2 separate regions of the Homo sapiens genome follow, and region 2 is linked to region 1. Evidence: promoter capture Hi-C in 16 types of primary human blood cells and fetal thymus (Javierre and others, 2016). All regions are on one chromosome and are shown on one strand. The core of a region is centred on a gene start or on the middle of the fragment in contact, and the rest is flanking DNA. Distances in the headings are between cores, read along the strand shown. Region 1 holds the start of RPS12 (ribosomal protein S12). Region 2 holds the start of ECHDC1 (ethylmalonyl-CoA decarboxylase 1).

What was found. The method cuts DNA at HindIII sites, captures the fragments that hold promoters and counts their contacts. A CHiCAGO score of 5 or more calls a contact.
Region 2: a contact is called between the fragment with the promoter of ECHDC1 here and the fragment with the promoter of RPS12 in region 1, in 1 of 17 cell types (total CD4 T cells). The highest score is 5.8, in total CD4 T cells.

Annotation. Positions count from the first base shown.
Region 1 is chr6:132,812,775-132,816,499 of GRCh38, reverse strand. RPS12 (ribosomal protein S12) reads right to left here and starts at 1,931. Exons shown (of 6, transcript NM_001016.4): 1 at 1,887-1,931; 2 at 1,718-1,768; 3 at 1,412-1,528; 4 at 1-39. The coding sequence starts at 1,731. SNORD101 (small nucleolar RNA, C/D box 101) reads right to left here and starts at 1,193; the gene lies at 1,121-1,193. It overlaps LOC107986644 (a long non-coding RNA gene), which reads left to right and starts at 2,212. Exons shown (of 3, transcript XR_001744345.3): 1 at 2,212-3,207. RefSeq lists enhancers at 1,466-1,595, 2,026-2,305, 2,220-2,966, 3,396-3,465. The HindIII fragment of the contact is 13,401 bases long and covers 1-3,725 here.
Region 2 is chr6:127,342,359-127,346,083 of GRCh38, reverse strand. It overlaps ECHDC1 (ethylmalonyl-CoA decarboxylase 1), which reads left to right and starts at 2,475. Exons shown (of 6, transcript NM_001002030.2): 1 at 2,475-2,748. RefSeq lists enhancers at 569-1,442, 2,317-3,190. The HindIII fragment of the contact is 1,394 bases long and covers 2,145-3,538 here.

The DNA of each region.
Region 1 (3,725 bases), core at 682-3,181:
TCACAGTTGGATGCAAGCACACAAAGATGGGCTTGGCGCCTGAAATTCAAATTACAATGAAAATGGAGCTAAAACTCAGATCCAAATCCATCATTCTTGCATTTTAGGAGGGTTATCTTTGCACTAACACTTGCGAAACATAAGCAGCCAATCCACTGAACACATAAATGCGTACAAAATTGCTTGAGTCTGAAGAACCTGCTAGGGAGCATATACATCTTCAATTAACCTACAACTGGTCTTCAGTAAAACCTCTGTCCCTGACACACTGAATTGGTGTAAGTCATTTTTAAAACTTCTGGCCAAAACCCAACCATAATAGCTTTCTTGTAAGCCAGCTTCATATACCTAAAGAAACATGTGAAAGGCCGGGCACGATGGCTCACTCCTGTAATCCCAGCACTTTGGGAAGACGAGGGGGGCAGATGACCCGAGGTCAGGAGTACCAGACCAGCCAGAGACCAACATGGCGAAACCCCGTTTCTACTGAAAGTACAAAAACTAGCTGGGCATGGTGGCGTGTGCCTGTAATTCCATCTACTCGGGAGGCAGAAGAATCGCTTGAACCTGGTAGGTAGAGGTTGCAATGAGATCGCGCCACTGCACTCCAGCCTGGGGGACAGAGCAAGACTCTTTGTCTCAAAAAAAAAAAAGAAAAAAGAAAAAAAAAAGACTGTGGCATTAATGGAACAGTTATGAAATGCCATGCAATAATGCCGAAATAGAAATACAGAAGACTCATACTAGGACCTACTAAATACATTAAACAATAATGCCGTTTCCATCGGATTGAACTGGCTAGATTACACCAAAACGAACTTGTCCTGTAAAACCTTAAAACTGCATTTAAATTCAGCTCAAGAGTAGGTTGATTTGTCAATGCCACCACCCTAAAAAACACATTAACTCGATCCATTCAAATACATTAACAAATATCCCAAATTCAAATAAATCACAGCTATTATACTACTAAATTCATCTAGGACCAAATGCTTCTGAAACCTGAGTTTGAAATTCCATTAAATTAATGCTTGTTTTGCAAACTACCAGATGTAATGTGGCTCTCCATCTCATCTATCTGCCAGATAAGTATAAGACTGACTAGCTCCACAACCTACAGGTTTGTCAGACTCTTATGTTTCACTCATAAAAGGAGTGAAGGGGTATCCGACAATTAAAGTCATCATTCAAACACTGTAGTTTTGAGTGCTTATCCCCATTCCAAACAGCAACCCACACATTTTAAGTGGGCTTTATAGATCTGAGTTCTGATACCTTTTCCTAGGTTTCCGGTAGGACGGATGCCATTCAGAACTTTTGCGCTAACACCATGAACTCCATGCCTTCTTCCCTTGGGTGGCAGTTTTGTTCCGGTTGCAAGAACCCACAGTATTGAGACTGATACACGTACTTGTCTAAGGCTTTGGCAGCTTCGCGAATTCCACGTGCTAGGCCATCGTGGATGAGGGCAGTCTTCAGAACCTCTTGTAAAGCAGTATTAACGTCCATTACACCTCCAGCAGCAATGCTTAAACGCGACACATCAGAACCATCAGTTAAAATCCTCACACCACATAAGGCCTTGCACTCAGCAAAAGCTAAGTGTACAACAGACGCGCTTACGGCGACCCGTTTGACCCAGTCCTGTTCCGCCAGCTCTAGCCCCACGCCTCAGCCGCACCCCGACCCCAACTCCAACCCCGGCCCCTGGGCTCACCCTTCCTCGGCCATGGCGGTGGGTTACGGGTGAAGTTGAATCTTGAACGCACTAAAAAACAAAAGCATTGACTTGTTAAAGAACCAGATACTCGTCACGAATCCCAGCAAGAACGCAACGAGCCACAAATTATAACCAATACACCCCCCTGCCGCCTCGCTCAACTTACCCCAAGCCTCCGCCTCCGCGCGACTCGGCGGCGGCAGGGAAAGAGGCCTCATCCGCACGCATGCCGGTATTTAAGGGTTTTTCAGGTCCCCTGTGCGCATGTGCACTCCCACCCTCGAAAGAGGTGGCTCCCGCAGTGCCGGGCCTGGGGAGTTTCTGTTTCCGGATTGAGGCGGTTCTGAGGCAAACGTACTGCGAGTTTTCTATCTCTGCCAGGCCGGTCCTTGGCGAGTGCAACAGGCACTACGCGGGCAGCTTCGCGTTGTCCTTCTTTGCGGAGGCGTGGCCCACCGAGGCCCAGGGAACTCATTCTACGGAGCGCGACAGAAGCCAAACAAGTGTGTCCGCGTGTTCTTTAAGGCACCTAGAGCCCTGTATCCCGCCGAGCGCCAGTTTTAACCCTTTCCACACCACGTTCTACTTTCCTGTTGCTTCTACAAGACCCAGCCTCCCCAGGCAGCGCACTTTGTTCCTTCGCTTCTAAGTCACCCTGAGAGACCATGTTTGTGTCGTTGTGGGTGTGATCCTCATCTTTGTCTTCATGAAACGAGAGCCTACATGCTTTCACTCTTCCAGGCTGGAGTGCAATGGCGCGATCTCAGCTTACTGCGACCTCCGGCTCCCGGTTTCAAGCGATTCTCCTGCCTCAGCCTCCCGAGTAGCCGGGATTGCAGGCGCCTGCCACCACCCTGGCTAATTTTTTGTATTTTTAGTAAAGACGGGATTTCACCATGTTGGCCAGGCTGGTCTCGAACTCCTGACCTCAGGGGATCCACCCGCCTCGGCCTCCCAAAATGCTGGGATTAGAGGCGTGACCCGCCGCCCCCGGCCGCTTTCACTATTTCTAAGCCCTTTCCCTGCGGTGTGTTGGTAAAGCGGAACCCTGCAGCCAGGGGTCAATTCTAGTTTCTAAGTATAGCGGGAGTCGCTTCTGAACGAAGTTTGTTCTGCTTTGTTTGGTTTTTAACGACGCGTTGTGCTCGGAATACACAGTTCCGCGCAACTCAGAATTCCTCAGGTGCATTTTCAACACCTACAATGTGCCTGACGCAGGGCCAGGTCCTGGGACTACAGACATGAAATATCCAGTCTTTGAGGAGTCCATTTTCTTCCAGGAAGCAATATTTTAAATTTGGAAGTGATTGGCCATTCCCCAATCCCCACTTCCAAACCAAACGCACGAAACACTACTGAATATGATCAATACTGCCTTTGTGTTTAATTTCCTCTCCTGGGTAGTCAGCCGCCAAACCAGTGAGCAATTATTAGGCGCTTGGCACGTGCCAGCGCTGTGAATCCAGTGGGCAGATACTGTTAGACTGGTGAGTGCAGCGAAAAAAACAAAAATGGGTAACGCAGTAAGAGCACCAGGGAGTTCACCAGAACAGAGACCTGCTGTAATGTTAATAAACTGATAGAGTTCAGTTTACTGATAGAGTTCAGTTTTAGATTTTCCGCTGGTTTCAGTTTCATTTTTAAAGCGTTGAAGCTGCTTCTCTGTCAGTAACTCATGCAAATGTTTATTGAGCTTTTGATTTAAAAAAAAAAAAAAAACGAGGAATTTATAAAGATGATTCATTCCTGTAGCCCTGGTTTGTTTGTGGTGGGATTAAGATTTTAGACAAAAATCAGAATACCTCAGGGCCACAGAGGAGATACAAAGTGGCAGGGGGTTAGGGAGTGGGGATGGTGTGAAAAGGTAAGAGGACCTCAGGCTTCTGGCAGCATTCGAAACAGGCTCAAAACAAAAACTAAGAGATTCCAAATCGGTGAGCATGGAAGGAGAGGAGGGTATTCTAAATGGATGAAAGTGTAGGGGCAAAGGCATGAAATCCTTCTT
Region 2 (3,725 bases), core at 1,226-3,725, 5.5 Mb after region 1:
GTATGAGGTGATATCTCATTGTGGTTTTGATTTGCATTTCCCCTATGATTATTTTTATTTATTTTTAATTTTTTAAAAATGTATGTATTTGTTTTTGAGAGTCTTGCTCTGTCACCCTGGCTGGAATGCAGTGGTGTGATCATGGCTCACTGCAGCCTCAAGCTCCTGGGCTCCAGTGATCCTCCCACCTCAGGCTCCTGAGTAGCTAGGACTATAGGTGTATGCCACATTGCCCAGCCAATTGTGATTTTTTGTAGAGACAGGGTTCTGCCATGTTGCCCATGGCTGGTCTTGAACTTCTGGGCTCAAGCAATCCACCTGCTTGGCCTCCCAAGGTGTGGGATTACAGGTGTGAGTCACTGTGCCTGGCTGAGCATTTTTTCATATATTTGTTAGTCATCATCATGTTTTCTTTTGAGAAATGTCCATTCAGGCCTTTTGCTCATTTTTAAATTGGATTTTTTTTTTTTTTTTTTTGGCTATTGAGTTGACTTCTTCATATACTCTGGATATTAACCCTTTGTCAGATATATAGTTTGCAAATATTTTCTCCCATTCTGCAGGCTGTCTTTTCACTCCGTTGATTATACATATTATGTATTTACTTATCTTTCATTGTCCACCTACCCCACTATATAGAGTTTAACTTGGATATTTTCCCAAAGTGTTAAAAAGAAAGATGGAAAATGGGAGCCAGAAATAGAAAGCCCACTGAGTACTACAGTTATCACTGAGAAAGAAGAATGAAAGTTATTACTGAAAAATAAAACTGAAGAAACCTCTCAGATGGGCCTGGTGCCTGGGTCCATGGGGACAAAAGTGGAACATCAGTCTAGCAGTCTAGTCTGGTGCTGGGGAAGACCTAAAGCCTGATTCTTCAGAGGCCATCATGGAGGCTGGGTTTGTGGGTGGTAGCCTGTAGGCTAGGCCCTCTGGGGTAGTTCTGGTGCCAGGGTCTACTGGGGTAGACCTGGACCTTGGGTTTGTTGGAGCAGGCCTGGAACCTGGGTTCACTGGAACCTGGGGCTGTAGGGACCAGCAGTCAGTGGACCTAAAGCCTATATCCACTGGTGCCAACCTGGAGACTGGGGCTGTAGGGCCCAACCTGGTGTTGGAGCCTGGTGCCTGAAACTATGGGGACCAACATGGGGAATGGAGTGGGCATAGATCTAGGCGCCATGGAGATTAGCCTAGCATTGGGGTGATCTTGGAGTCTCAGTGAAATGGCTCAGTGATCTTGGAGTCTCATTTTATAACAAACTAGAATTAAATACAGTACTTCTAATAATGACTTCTTCCAATTAGTCCAAACTGGGCTCCCACTTATTCCCTATCATACACATCTCCGTATCGTAAAACTATCCTCCCTGTTCGGCGCGTTGGCACATTCTGTTCCTCCGACTAGAATATTCCCTGTACTTATTCAAATCATACCTATGACCACTGCAGAACTCCAGGAACATGACCATCCCATCTAAACCCCTGCGTTCAGAGACTTGACCAAACTCTAGCAAGCTTTAGCAGCATAAGGCCCTGTGCCCAGGGCGACTGCCTCAGAAAGCTTAACTACGTGATGTAACCAGCACACAACTGATGATAGGTCTCTGACATCCCTTTCTTAGAACGTTTACTAAAGGGCTTGCAATTGTAAAGACTTATTTCTTGCCACTCAGAAGTTCTCTCTCAAGGACCAGAGAGTCATTCCTTTGAAATGTAATCGAGAAGGATAAAATCCTCCGTAGGAGGATAGAATCCTGCGGTAACTGTTAAAACGCGCGCACACACAAACACACAGCTGGCCTAATCACATTTACACTAACAACTCTGTAGGTTCACTTTCTCTACTGAGCGCCCGCATATCCCCTTTCTCCTTTTAAAACGTCCCTTTAAAAATGCCCAGATGATCTCTGCACGAATCGAAATAGAGCTCAGCTCTTTCCTGTCAGTAGTTAACTGAATGTTTTCACCGCTTTAACGTCCAGCTGCGCTTATCTTTGACATCGACTACCTAAGGTCTACCTTTAGTCCCACGACTCTGACAAAATGATCTCAATATTGGTGTAAAATCACCTCCCCTTTCAAGGGTCTTCCAAAGCACTTCCTGTCTGCGGCATACAAAATGTATTGGCACGGAATTTTAAGCTTACTGAGCTTTATAAACACGTCACATTCACACATTCAAGACACACACTGGATATTCGGATAAAAACAAACAAACAAAAAACTGGCTAAATACCCATTCCCCTCAATAACTTGGATAAGATACCTAAAAAAGGTCGACCTTCGGTACCTTTCTGTCTTCTCCCCTCTCGCTATTTGCCTACACTGGCTTCCTCACCTCCACTTTTTCTCACGTTTATCTGAGCGAAAACAAGCACGGTTCGGCAGCCTCCTTTCCCAGCCCTACCTTTGTGCTGCAAAAGCGAAAATTCAAAAGCCAAGTACAATAGGAGACCGCCCACCCTGGCTCCCTCGTGACACGAGGGAGCGCGAAGCGGAGGGCGCCTCGCGGCAGGAGCGGGATTTCCGGGGTCACGGGAACCGGCAGGGGAACGGGATAAAGTTCCCGGAGAAAGGAAAGGAGAGCGTGGGATAGTAAAAGAGAAGACGCGGAGAAGAGGAGAGGACCTACAAGAACGGAGGACAGGGGCGCACGATGGTCCCGGGGGGAGCGGAAACAAAGGCACGCAAAACGGAAAAGCGTGTGTAGGGGAGCGGAAAAGGAAGTCACCACCGTGGCCTGCGACGGTAAGTGGTCGTAAGGGTTGGTCTTAGCGCTTCAGTTTAGTGTTGTCAGTGGGAGAATCCTAAAATGTCGCCGTGGAATGGACTGTACCGCTCGCTTCTCCAAACGTGTCCCAGACGGCGAGCCTCCCCGGCTCCGCGGCTTGTCCCTTGCAAGCGCCGCGCAGGCCTGCCCCGCGCTGGACGTGGAGACGCGGTGCCGAGCGCCACGGGCCGGCTGTGCGCCGGCCGGGGAAAGAGGGCGAGGGGAAGAGATGAATCGGTCTTCCCAGAGCGCGCCGCGAGGTCGCGAGATTACACTTTAAAAAGCATGAGGAGGCTTGCTTTCTACATGCTGATTTAATTTCGGAATACATTCGAGGCCCTGTGCTAAGTTAGGTAATGTTCCCTATAATTGTCTTTTATGTATAAGTTGTCTTGCCTAACTAAAACTTTTCTTACTTGTATCGTGCAGCCAACTTTTCAAGAACGAAAGATGAGCAACTCCTTTCTGGTAGAGGTTCTTTCATTGGAGAATTTTTGAGCTACAATAATCCTTTTAACGCTGCGCACACATACAGGGATTACACGTGTAGGGGATTAAAAACACAGTTAAGTTTAGGTTGAAGGTGCTGTTAAGGACTTCAGGCAACATTAAATCAACACTCAGTTCTTTGCTCTGTTCCACATCTGGGCTCCTGTATAGCAGTTGTTGCTCTAGGTGCTAGAGGTATGCAGAGGAACTGGACAAGGGCAAGGAAAACAAAGGGCTCCTTCTTTAGAAGAGCTAGCATTCTCTTGGAACAGACAAGCTTGTGGTGAGAAGTATATTTGTGAAATCTACGAGGGGAGGGAGCAGCGCAGTAATAGAACGGGCGATCCTTTCTTGATTTTTTATTGGGTTCTGGCCTGAAAGGCGACTGTATAATCAGCTGGGATTCCTGCAATGATTAACATTCCAGGAAGGGAAGCCAGCCTGTGAAGAAGCATGGCATTGAAAC